Linked DNA regions of Homo sapiens: region 1 is linked to region 2. The links are contacts of gene promoters, found by promoter capture Hi-C in blood cells and fetal thymus (Javierre and others, 2016). All regions are on one chromosome and are shown on one strand. The core of a region is centred on a gene start or on the middle of the fragment in contact, and the rest is flanking DNA. Distances in the headings are between cores, read along the strand shown. Region 1 overlaps ABCC1 (ATP binding cassette subfamily C member 1 (ABCC1 blood group)). Region 2 holds the start of NDE1 (nudE neurodevelopment protein 1).

Region 1 (6,405 bases), core at 2,206-4,705, 460 kb before region 2:
AGCACTGTGGAATGTGAAGTCCCCACCTGGCAATGTGCCTGGCATACAGAAGTACTCAAATGTGTCAAGACTATCCATTTACTGTGTATATATCATATGGACCATACATGTGTATTTGCAAACATGGCTCACATACTGCGTAGCACAGTGGATAACAGCGTGAGCTCCTGAGCCAGACTGCCTTGTTCAATGCCAATGCTGCCATGTATTAGCTGTGTGACTTTTGGCAACTGACTCAACCTCTCCGGGCCTCAGTTTCTGTATCTCCAAAATGAGGGAAATATTAACTCCTACCTCACAGGACTGCTGCAAGGATAAAATAAGTTAAAACACGTGGAAGTGTTTAGAACAAATCCAAGCACCAAGTAAATGCTCAGTAAATGCCAGCTGTTAATATCAACGCTGCTGCATTTGAGGACTCCCATAGGACCACACAGAACAGTATAGAGCAGGGTTTTTTTTTTTTTGTTTATTTTTTGAGACAGGGTCTTGCTCTGTCACCCAGGCTGGAGGGCAGTGGTGCAATCATAGGTCTAACTGTAGGCTCAAACTCCTGGGCTCAAGCAATCTTGTGACCTCAGCTGCCCAAGTAGCTGAGACCACAAGCGCATACCACCACGTGACCTGTAGTTTATTTTATTTATCTATTTTTTCTAGAAATAGGGTCTCACTATGTTGCCCAGGCTGGTCTCGAATATCTGGCCTCAAGCAATCCTTTGACTTCAGCCTCCCAAAGTGTGGGATTACAGGTGTGAGCCACCATGCCTGGCCAACAGCAGGGTTTCTCAATCTTTTGACAACCAAAAGCATCTCCAGATATTGTCAAACATCCCTGAGGGACAACACTGCCCATAATTGGGAATTACTAGTATAAGCCAATTTCCGCCCTCACTCAGCAGGCAAAAGTCCGCAAATGAGACCTCATGGAAGCTCTGTCACTGTGACAAAGCAAACATGCTCAAGGGGGTCCTCCCAACCCTCAGTGCTTCCAGAGGCCTCTGTTCTCAACTGTCCTCATCTGTAAAATGGGCACACTGGAGCACTCCTCCCGTCTACCACCAAGGCCCATATGAACAAAGCACTCAAACACCCACTCTACAAATATCTGAGTGTCTACTAGCTGACAGCTACCATTTTTCTGGGTTTGGCTTGGTTTGGGGTCCCACAAAACGCTGAGGACTCTAAGGATCCATTTCTATAATTAGACAAAGCCACAACAGGGGCCCAAATCAGGCGGGGTGGGAGACAGCGGCACCAACCTTGTGAAATGCCCAGGGCTCCATAGACGCTCAGCCGGACTTTCGTGTGCTCCTGAGTCCCGTTGACGATGGGGTCATCAGTCCAGAGGCTGAGCCAATAGTTGGAAGCCAGCGCGGACACATGGTTACACATGAAAAGGAAGATGCTGAGGAAGGAGATGAAGAGTCCGATGGCCTTCATGTAGTCCCAGTACACGGAAAGCTTGACCTGGAGATCACAGGAGATAAGGCAGCTTAGCACATGCACGCACCCAGCCCCAGCCCCAGCCCCACAAGGTCGGGGGCTTCACCAGCACTGTGCCACCCAGCTGCCTGCCTTTGCTCCTACGTAGAACACCCCTCCCCTTTAGCTATTCAACAAAGTCAGCAGTAAACAAAGTCGAGGGCCAGGCGCCGTGGCTCACACCTGTAATCCCAACATTTTGGGAGGCTGAGGCGGGCAGATCAACTGAGGTAGAGACTTCGAGACCAGCCTGGCCAATATGGCAAAATCCTGCCTCTATTAAAAATATAAAGTTAGCCGGGTGTGTGGTCGGCATCTGTAATCCCAGCTAATTGGAAGGCCGAGGCAGAATTCCTCGAACCCAGGAGGCAGAGGTAGAAGCAGTGAGCCAAGATTGCCCCACTGCACTCCAGCCTGGGCGACAGAGTGAGACTCCGTCTCAAAAAAAAGAGACAAACTCAGGGTCTCTGCCCTCATGCATGGAGCTTCCAGTCGCGTGGTGAGATAGGCTCCCATAAAATCATCCCAGATAAATGCGTCATCACAGAGAAGGGCTGTAAACGGTGCACAATTCCACGTGAGTATAAAATCAGACAACCTGACCTAATGCAGTCTAGAGAGGTATTGGGGGAGGTTTTCTTCGAGGAAGTGACATTAAAGAGTTAAACCAAGGCTGGGTGCAGTGGCTCATGCCTGTGATCCCAGCACGTCGGTAGGCCGAGGCGGGTGGATTACCTGAGGTCAGGAGTTTGAGACCAGCCTGACTAACATGGCGAAACCCCTTGCCTACTAAAATACAAAAATTAGCTGGGCATGGTGGTAGGCACATGTCATCTCAGCTACTCGGGAGGCTGAGGCAAGAGAATGGCTTGAACCCAGTAGGCGGAGGTTACAGTGAGCCGAGAATGCGCCACTGCACTCCAGCGTGGGTGACAGAGTGAGACTGTCTCTAAAAAATAAAAAAAAATAAAGAGTGCTGGGCATCGTGGCTCACACACCTGTAATCCCAGCACTTTGAGGGGCTGCGGCAAGTGGATCACCTGAGGTCAGGAATCCGAGACCAGCCTGGCCAACATGATGAAATCTCACCTCTACAAAAAATACAAAAATTAGTCAGGCGTGGGGGCACATGCCTGTAGGCTGAGGCACAAGGGTCGCTTGAAGCCAGGAGGTGGAGGTTGCACCAAGCCAAACTTACTGCACACCAGCCTGGGTGACAGAGGGAGACATTGCCTCCAGGGGGAAAAAAAAAAAAAGGAGTTAAACCAGCTGAAAATGGAAAAAAGGTGGCAGAACCAGCATGTGCAAAGGCCCTGAGGTAGGAGGGAACACAGTGCATCTGGGGAACTGAGAGAAGGCACTGGTGGCTGGAGCCAGGAGATCATGGGGCAGCAAGGAACAAGAGGCTGGAAAAACCGGTCGCAGTCAGACCACACATGGCATGGGAGACTCGGGTCAGGATTCCAACTTTTAGCCAAGACTGACAGAAAGCAGAAGCCACCAATGAGTTTTAAGCAACGTGTGACATGTTGCCTGGCAACCAAGGCCAAATGTCACCTCAACACCACAACTGGGCCAGCCTCCTCCAACTCTTTTCACTCTGAGCACAGAATACCATCTCACCCATCTTCCCAGTGCCCAGTTCGCTCCAGGAGGTGAAGGTTGGAGTTTCTTTCCCTCCTATATTCCCTGTGGAGCCCAGCATGGGGCTAAACAAATGTGTCTAGCCGCCTGACATGAGAGACAGGGCAATCTGCTTTAGGCCAGCCCCCACCTAAACCACCTGACTTGGTTTCAAGAAATTCCAGGGATCTTTACCCGTGTCTGTGCTCATTGTCATTTCAAGCTTTTCATGCTGAATTTTGGGTCATGAAAATCATCTGGACTGGGTGCGGTGGCTCACACCTATAATGCCAGCACTTTGGGAGGCCAAGGCAGGACAATGACTTGAGCCCAGGAGTTTGAGACCAGCCTGGGAAACACAGTAAGACCCTGTCTCTACAAAAAATTTTAAAATTAGCTAGGTGTGGTGGTCCACACCTATAGTCCCAGCTACTCAGGAAGCTGAGCTAGGAGGAGCTCTTGAACCCAGAAGCTTAAGGCTGCAGTGAGCGTTGGTCACACCACTGCACTCCAGCCTGAGCGACACAGTGAGGCTCTGCCCCTCACCAGAAAAAAAAACAAAAATCATCTGACCCTACGGTCTAGCTGAAAGGTAACAGGTGAAAGATAACAGGTCTGATGTGTAACTGGCTGCTTCCTTTTGAGTTTTCAAGTCCCCATTCTGGAAAATGAAAAATGTGGGTGAGGAGACAGGTCATAATTAAGAATGTGTTTATTTCACCACTTGGCTTTGTCATGCGGCCAAGTTGCCTGCTGTCCCTGAAATTAGCCTGCAGCGTTCAGGAACCTCTTTCTCATGAGTAGTGGAATGTGGTGGGCTCGGGGGTCAGAAATGACAAGTGTGTGGCCAGGTGTGGTGGCTCACATCTGTAATCCCAGTACTTTGGGAGGCGGGCCAGTCACTTGAGCCCAGGAGCTCAAGACCAGTCTGGGCGACAGGGCGAAACCTCATCTCCACAAAAAAATTAAAAAAATTAGTCAAGCGTGGGGGTGCACACATGTAGTCACAGCTACTTGGAAGGCTGAGGTGGGAGAATCACTTGAATCCGGGAGGTGGAGGCTGCAGTTAGCCATGATTGTGCCACTGCACTCCATCCTGGGTGACAGAGTCAGACCTTGTCTCAGAAAAAAAAAAAAGAAAACAAATTAAAAAAAAAAAAAAGGCCGGGCGCAGTGGCTCATGCCTATAATCCCAGCACCAGCTCTTTGGGAGGCTGAGGCAGGCAGATCACAAGGTCAGGAGTTTGAGACCAGCCTGGCCAACATAGTGAAACGCCATCTCTACCGAAAATACAAAAATTAGCTAGGCATGGTGGCGCAGGCCTGTAGTCCCAGCTACTCGGGAGGCTGAGGCAGGTAAATTGCTTGAACCCGGGAGGCGGAGGTTGCGGTGAGCGCCACGGCACTACAGCCTGGGCAACACAGCAGGACTTCGTCTCAAAAAAAAAAAAAAAAAAAAAAAAGACACAAAGAAACGATAAGCGTGTTGTGCCTGGCTCCACTCTGGGTCCAACTTTGACAAGTAACAAGCCCCCTGGCTTTGATGTTCCTTGAATATAAAATTGGAGTTAAATGAGGATTAAATGGGCCTGGCATCTCTGGCCCTTCCTTCCCATGTCCTGCGATTTGGGGTAACTTCTCTGGCTTCCTGGAGGGTCACTAAGGGTAAGGCGAGAGAGGACACCAGAGTCACCTCTGCCCCTTGTTACGGTCCTGACTCTGATGACAAGTTAAGGAAGAAGCCAGGAACAGACAGTCCTCGGAAGCTCTGGACACATCCGGGCAGATCTAAGAGAAAGTGCCCCAGCCCCACTCCCCGGCTACCACCTTTCATGTTTTTTTTTTTGTTTTTCTTTATCTGCATGCTTATTTTTTACCTACTTTAAAAATTCCATTCCCTTTAAAAACAAAAACAAAAAAAACCACATTTATTTTTAAAAATAAACTTTGGATCACCACCATAAATGGAGAATTATTAACACTTGCCCAAAATAGACGATCTTTAAAAACAATAAAACAGGAGCTCAAAACCCGGTCTCCTTGTTACAAAGAGAGGATAGTGGTTGATAGGTTGAGAAGGCAGGGTAGGACCCAACTGGGACTTTCTCAGGGACGTAATCATTAGGACCAAATGAGAAATGAAAAACAGGCAGGACGCGGTGCTCACCCCTGTAATCCCAGCATTTTGGGAGGCCAAGGTGGGTGGATCACCTGAGGTCAGGAGTTCAAGACCAGCCTGGCCAACATGGTGAAACCCTGTCTCTACTAAAAATACAAAAATTAGCTGGGCAAGGTAGCAAGTTTCTGTAATCCCAGCTACTCAGGAGGCTGAGGCAGGAAAACTGCTTGAACCCAGGAGGCAGAGGTTGTAGTGAGCCGAGATCGCACCACTGCACTCCAGCCTTGGTGACAGAGTGAGACTCCATCTCAAAAAAATAAAAATTAAAAAAAGAAATGAAACAAACATTCCTCTGTCATTTAATGCGTCTGTGCACAACCGGACACCATCTCATGCACAACTGAACCCCACGTTGCAGGAAGCCCTGATTTAAAGCATCCAGCTCACCTCTAGCGAATGAGACCCCCCTGAGCTGCTCAGGCAGTCAATAGAGCAGAGACTACAAGTACTAACCCTGGAGTTGGCCAGGGTTCAAATCCCAGTTCTGCCGCTGACCAGGGGTGACCGTGAGTAAGTCACTTAGCCTCTCTGGCCTCAGTTTCTGGTGCTGCAAATAGTATCTTCACAGGTGTGTTGTGATGGACAGGTGAGTTAACATAGACAAGGCACTTTGCACAGTGCCCAGTGCACAGTGGGCGCTCTATAAACTCCAGCCACTGTCATCACTTAAGGAGCGAATCTCACCTGCCCTGTCTGCGCCTTGTCAGCCTCCATCAGCTTCCAGGTCTCCTCCTTCTTGGCCTCAGCTTTCTGCAGTTCTGCGGTGCTGTTGTGGTGCCTGCTGATGTCCCCACTATAGGAGGAGGAGCTGCTGAGCTGTCTGGAGAAGCAAAGCACAAGGGTGTCAACCGTACAGATGCCTTGGGCAGGGTCGGAGGGCTCCCTGCTGGGACTGCTATTGTGGGTCTGAACCATGGCATAAGAGACGGAGTGTTTCCACATGCACACATGTAAACATATATATGAATATATGCACCACACCCCACCATGTCACTCTCCAGGTTTATAGGTACCCAGAGAAAGGCAGTGTCTCAGGCAGGAATGAGACCCATGGGAAACGCAATCTGTGATGATCTCTGGGGGCCTGCAAAAAGCCCATGACAACTGGTATATAAAAAGTG
Region 2 (6,343 bases), core at 2,220-4,719:
TTTTTTTGCATGTTTTACATGATTAAAGCTAACAAAAAAGTCTGAAAATACACTCGAGACACACACCTCTGATTTTAAAACTCTGGAAAAAAGCAAAGCAATCTCTTTCAGCTTTCCTCTGAGAGAAGAAACCCAGCACTGCTAGTCAGGAGCAATAAACATACAGAAACCATCGATAATTACTCAACACCCTTCTCCATCCCCACTCCATATCCTTCCCAATCAAAACAAACAGAAGAGCAGGAGGGAAGAGAAAGAAGCTGCCAAATGTCCACACATGCTCCGACAGCCAGGACGCAGGCTTTGCATTTTGCAGGAGTGACATCACTGGGGCAACATCAGTCAAGAGTCAGCAAGCCTGGCTTCTGTCTTTGTGCTTTCCAAGTTTACAATGATCAACCTACAAAAATACTTAGGCAGGCAAGGACCCATGTTCAAAGATGCACACCATCATTCACGAATGTGGAAAACTGGAAACCTCAATGTCAACAGAGGACTGAATGGAAAACGATGCAGTTGTTAAGAACTGTAAGTACTAATATGGAAGAAAGCTCAGGATATGTTAAAAATGGGTGCCCATTTTTGTTTATTTCCCTCTCTCTGTACACAGAATAGAAAAGGGTCTGGAGGATGCACCAGAATGGGGGTAAAGCAAGCCCTGTGGATTTGTACCTGACACCTTGCTTTAAGGTAAACTACATACACATATATACAGTAAGCATAGATCGCTTTAGAGATTTTAAAAAGCTTAGGCCAGGCGCGGTGGCTCTCTCCCACCCCGGCACGTTGGGAGGCTGAGGCGGAAGGATCGCTTGAACCCAGGAGTTCGAGACCAGCCTGGGCAACATAGTGAGACCCCAATCTCTACAAAAAATTTTAAAAATTAGCCAAGCATGGTGGCATGTGCTTTTAGTCCCAGCTACTTGGGAGGCTCAGGCAAGAGGATTGCTTGAGCCTGAGAGGTCGAGACTGCAGTGAGCTGTGATTGCATCACTGTGTTCCAGCTTGGGCGACAGAGTGAGATCCCGTCTCAAAAAACAAACAAACAAAAACTTGGACAAAAAGTAAAATAGCTATTGTTCCAGGATAATTTTATTCTACTGAACCAAGTGACAGGGAAAGAATTTTTCCTACTGTGGTTTTGCCTCCTCCAACCCTTTTCAAACATTTCTTGAATACCTACTAAGTGCTGGGCACTGCTGAAGGAGGCAGACAAAAAGCACCCACATCCATTGCACGAGGTGCACGTGTAGTACTAACTGCAGGCACAAACTTTCTGTACACAGGAATGCTCATGTTAGGAAATTACCTTGTGAGGAAAAGGAGTGTCAATTCTCGGCTCACATTCTAAGGCAAAAGAACACACTTTGGGCTGCATGCAGTGGCTCATGCCTGCAAGTAATCTCAGCACTGTGGGAGGCCAAGGCAGGAGGACTGCTTGAGCCCAGGAATTTGAGACCAGCCTGGGCAACAAAGCAAGATTCTGCCTCTACATAAAAAATAATAATAATGATAGAGTCGGGTGCAGTGGCTCATGCCTGTAATCCCAACACTTTGGGAGGCTGAGGTGGGCAGATCACGAGGTCAGAAGTTTGAGACCAGCCTGGCCAATATGGTGAAACCCCATCTCTACTAAGAATTAGCCGGGCATGGTGGCACGCACCTGTAATCCCAGCTACTCAGGAGGGTGAGGCAGAAGAATCACTTGAACCCGGAGGACTGAGGTTGCAGTGAGTCGAGATCATGCCACTGCACTCCAGCCTGGACAAGAACAAGACTCCGTCTCAAAATAAATAAATAAATAAATAATAAATAACACACTTTGGAAACAAAAATAAGTCAAGTTAATAAACTGTTATCCAACATGGGATAAAATATATGAATCACAGGCCCCTGAGACTTCAGCGGCACAGATCATCTGCATTTAATCCTACACAAAACACACACTAAGAGGAAAGGCTCAAAATGGGTTGTAGGCCGGCACGGTGGCTCACGCCTGTAATCCCAGCACTTTGGGAGGCCGAGGGGGCAGATCACGAGGTCAGGAAATCGAGACCATCCTGGCTAACACGGTGAAACCCCATCTCTACTAAAAATACAAAAAATTAGCCAGGCGTGGTGGCACGCACCTGTAGTCCCAGCTACTCCGGAGGCTGAGGCAGGAGAATCGCTTGAACCCGGGAAGCGGAGGTTGCAGTGAGCCAAAATCGCACCACTGCACTCCAACCTGGGCGAGAGTGAGACTCTGTCTCAAAAACAAAAACAAAAAAAAAAAAAAAAAAACGGGTTGTATACCAACGAGGTGATGGAGGCTGGGGTGGTCGGGTAACAAGAGGCTTTAGGAGTAGCTGGGATCTAATTAATCTTCAAAACACCCGACCCATGTCCTAAAATGCCATCCTATGCTAGAATACACTATAACAAAACTAAAAATGATGAACCTGCCTAGGTCGTGCTGCAAAGGCCTTTTCTTTAGAAAGTTAAAAGGGGCCTGAGGCTCAAAGTAGAAATTAAGAGGCACAACCTGGTAGTAACCACGGACAAAGCAATCAAGGAAGCTCAGGCCCTCAGGAGGCAGAAAGCCTGAGATGGCTCGGAGAAGATAAAGTCGCCTCCCCAAAAGCGGTGTCAAGGTGACAGCGGGGTTTCCCAGGACCTCAGAGACTCAGGTCCTCAGTGAGCCCAGCCATCACTCAAGCTGCGGAATAAGCATTTTCGTCCTTTACCCAATCCCTCCCCAAAGTGCTGTCAGAAGAAACCTGAACCGTCCTGCGGCAGAGACGGGAGCAAAGCGGAGAGCAGACTGCCCCAAACGTGTTCCCGGAGGGAGGGAGCAGGGTGGGTTTTTGGAAAGAGGCCTGCAGGGGCGGGACAGTGGGTGTGAGGGCAGGGGCAACGCTGCAATCGAGGGGTCTGGGGTCGCAGAGAAGCGGGTGGCAGGATGGAGGAATAGGAGAGAGAGAGAAAAGAAACGAGGGTCATCTAGGAGAGGAGTATGGGGAGGAAGGAAGAGGAGAAAGAGGATGGAGCCTGGCAGCGGGGTTTGGGGACCGGCAAGGCTTAACCACCCAGGAAGTCCCGGAAGGAGAAGAGGGCAACGGGGTGGGAGAGAGACCAACGCAGAAAGAGAAACAAAGTTGCCAAGGGCGAGGGGCCAGCGCGAGGAACGCACCGGTGGCAAGGCACTCAGTGCCTAACTTTTTAGGACGGGAGGCTCCAGGGAGGCGGGATTTTGGAGCCCAGGGACCGGGGGAGTCCAGGCGGCCGGGAAGCGACGCGCAAGCGAGGGGCGTAGGGGTCCCTGCCAGGCGGTGGCCCGGGGTCCCGGGATCCTGGGGCGGGGCAGAGGAGCTTTTCAGCCGCGGTGGAGGTCCCCGGACAGCCACCCCGACCCCAGCCCCGCGCAGCGCCTCACTTACCCGAGCAGGGGCGGCGAGGCCAACGCGGCGGCGGCGGCAGAGGCGGCTGCGAAGGGCGGTGCGGCCCCGGCCCTCCGGACCCCGCCCCCGCCCCGGAGCCTGCGGTCGGCGCCTCCCATTGGCTGCTGCTCTACGGTACCGCGTCCGCCTCGGCCAATCAGCGCAGAGCAGCGTCGTTTGGAAACTTTTTTCCCAGGCCGGGCGCGGCGCGGCCAAGCGGCGAAGGCTCCTGGCCGGAGGGGGTTTGAGAGGCGCCGGCTGCCGGGCGCTGGGCTGCGGCGGGCTGGCGGGCATTGGAGATGCTGCAGAACGCTGCCTGGACACCCGGGAAACGGGTTTGGGCTTGCGGGCCGCGCATTTCAGGAAAATACGCCGGCCTCTCCTTCACTTCGATTGCATTTTCCCATTCTTGCACTTTCTCCAAATCAGAAGGAAAGACAAAGATTCAGGCCCACTGAAGCTAGCAGTGCCCCGTGCCCTTCCTACTCCTTTACACCAAAAGTAGAATCTTCAGCATCATTATCTTCTCCAGAAGCAGGAGAACGTAGTGCACCAGAATTTGGTCATAAACTTGGCTTTGAGTCCTAGTCCTGCCCCTTACTAACTGTGTGGTCTTGGGAAAGTTGTTTAGCCTCTATGACTCCGTTTCCCCATCTATAAAACGCCATTATGGGTCTGGCGCGGTGGTCACGCCTGTAATCCCAGCACTTTGGGAGGCCAAGGCGGGTGGATCACGAGGTCAGGAGTTCAAGACCAGCCTGGCACATGGTGAAACCCCGTCTCTACTAAAGATACAAAAAATTAGCCGGATGTGGTGGCACGCACCTGTAATCCCAGCTACTCAGGAGGCTGAGGCAGGAGAATCACGGGAAACCGGGAGGTGGCGGTTGCAGTGAGCCGAGATCACACCACTGCACTCTAGCCTAGGCGACAGGGCAAGACTCCGTCTTAAAGAACAGACAAACAAACAAACGACATTATGCAGAGGACTAAATGACTTAACAGCATTTGTAAAAACGTTTAGAACAGAAATTTGAACTTAGTAAGTACAATATATGTATTTGTTAAATGATCTTGATTTTGTTTATTTATTTATTTTGAGATGAAATCTCCCTCTGTCTCCCAGGCTGGAATGCAGTGGCGTGATCTCCACTCACTGCAACCTCTGCCTTCTGAGTTCAAGCAATTCTCCTGCTTCAGCCTCCCGAGTAGCTGGGATCACAGGCCCGCATCACCACACCCGGCTAATTTTTATATTTTTAGTAGAGACGGGGTTTCACCATGTTGGCCAGGCTGCTCTCGAATCCCTGTCCTCAGGTGATCCACCCACCTCGGCCTCCCAAAGTCCTGGGATTACAGGCGTGAGCCACCACACACTGCCTGAAGATCGTGATTTTTAAATGGCTGTGTGTGCCAGGCACAATTCTCACAGCAACCCTAATTGTTCACTAACAAATTAAAATTAAAAAATAATTTTTTTCTTTTCGAGACAGAGTTTCCCTCTTGTTGCCCAGGCTGGCGTGCAATGGTGCGATCTCGGCTCACTGCAACCTCTGCCTCCCAGATTCAAGCGATTTTCTTGTCTTAGTCTCCCTAGTAGCTGGGATTACAGGCGCCCACCATTACGCCCAGCTAATTTTTTGTATTTTTAGTAGAGACACGGTTTCACTGTGTTGGCCAGGCTGGTCTCGAACTCCTGACCTCAAGCAATACACCTCAGTCTCCCAAAGTGCTGGGATTACAGGCGTGAGCCATGTAACTCAGAAGGCAGAGGTTGCGGTGAGTGGAGATCACGCCACTGCATTCCAGCCTGGGAGACAGAGGGAGACTTCATCTCAAAATAAATAAATAAATAAAATCAAGCCACCATGCTTGGCTGGAATTTCTTTTTTTCTTTATTTTCTTCTAAAACATCCTGTCATAACATGTTCATTAACAAATACCGAACATTCTGGTTAGTGGGTACAAAAATAGAGTTAGAATGAATAAGATCTAGTATTTGGGAGCACAGCAGGGTGACTACAGTCCACAACAATGTATTGTACATTTTAAAATAACTAAAGGAGTATAATTGGAGTGCTTGTAACACAAAGAAAGGATAAATGCTTGAGGTCATGGACACCCATTTACCCTGATGTGATTATGATGCATTGCATGCCTGTTATCAAAATATCTCATGTACCCCATAAATATAAACACCTACAGTGTACCCATAAAAACTAAAAATATATATATTATTATCCAGCTTTTTTTTTTTTTTGTGAGACAGAGTCTCACCCTGTGACATAGGCTGGAGTGCAGTGGCATAATCAAAGCTCACTGCATCCTGGACCTCCCAGGCTCAAGTGATCCTCCCACCTCATCCTCCGGAGTAGCTAGGACCACAGGTGTGCACCAACACGCCCAGCTAATTTTTACATTTTTTTGTAGAGACGTGGATCTCACTATGTTGCCCAGGCTGGTCTTGAACTCCTGGGCTCAAGTGATCCTCCTGCCTCAGCCTCCCTCCCAAAGTGCTGGGATTATAGGCATGAACCACAGCACCCGGCATTATGAGCATTCTTCTGTACAATGCACCCTTACAGCACAGTGAATACAGTCAGACAAAGTACCTGTCCTCAAAGGGCTTATATTGTTAAGAGAGAAACATACTAAATCTATAAGCAGAAAAAGTAACGTCATTTCAGATACTGATAAGTGCTATGACTAAGGCAAGCCCATTTGATACAACGGGCTGGGAGGGGTCACTTCAGATGCTATAGTCAGGGAAGGCCACTGTAGAGAGGAGACCATGCAACTGAACCACAGGTGATGAACCACAGGAAAGCATTAAATTGTATCCATGTTAAAGATAAGAAAATAAAGGTGCAGGAAGTTAATTGAGTTGTCCGAGGTCTTACAACTAGTAATTAACAAATCAGGCT

What was found. The method cuts DNA at HindIII sites, captures the fragments that hold promoters and counts their contacts. A CHiCAGO score of 5 or more calls a contact.
Region 1: a contact is called between a fragment that was not itself captured here and the fragment with the promoter of NDE1 in region 2, in 1 of 17 cell types (erythroblasts). The highest score is 5.2, in erythroblasts.

What each region holds. Positions count from the first base shown.
Region 1 is chr16:16,106,437-16,112,841 of GRCh38, reverse strand. ABCC1 (ATP binding cassette subfamily C member 1 (ABCC1 blood group)) reads right to left here. Exons shown (of 31, transcript NM_004996.4): 21 at 5,969-6,104; 22 at 1,260-1,467. Among named protein-coding and RNA genes, the nearest start is that of ABCC6, 110 kb to the left of the region's middle. The HindIII fragment of the contact is 249 bases long and covers 3,331-3,579 here.
Region 2 is chr16:15,647,371-15,653,713 of GRCh38, reverse strand. NDE1 (nudE neurodevelopment protein 1) reads right to left here and starts at 3,469. Exons shown (of 9, transcript NM_017668.3): 1 at 3,420-3,469. RefSeq lists a silencer at 108-402 and enhancers at 2,767-3,266, 3,267-3,768. The HindIII fragment of the contact is 10,572 bases long and covers 750-6,343 here.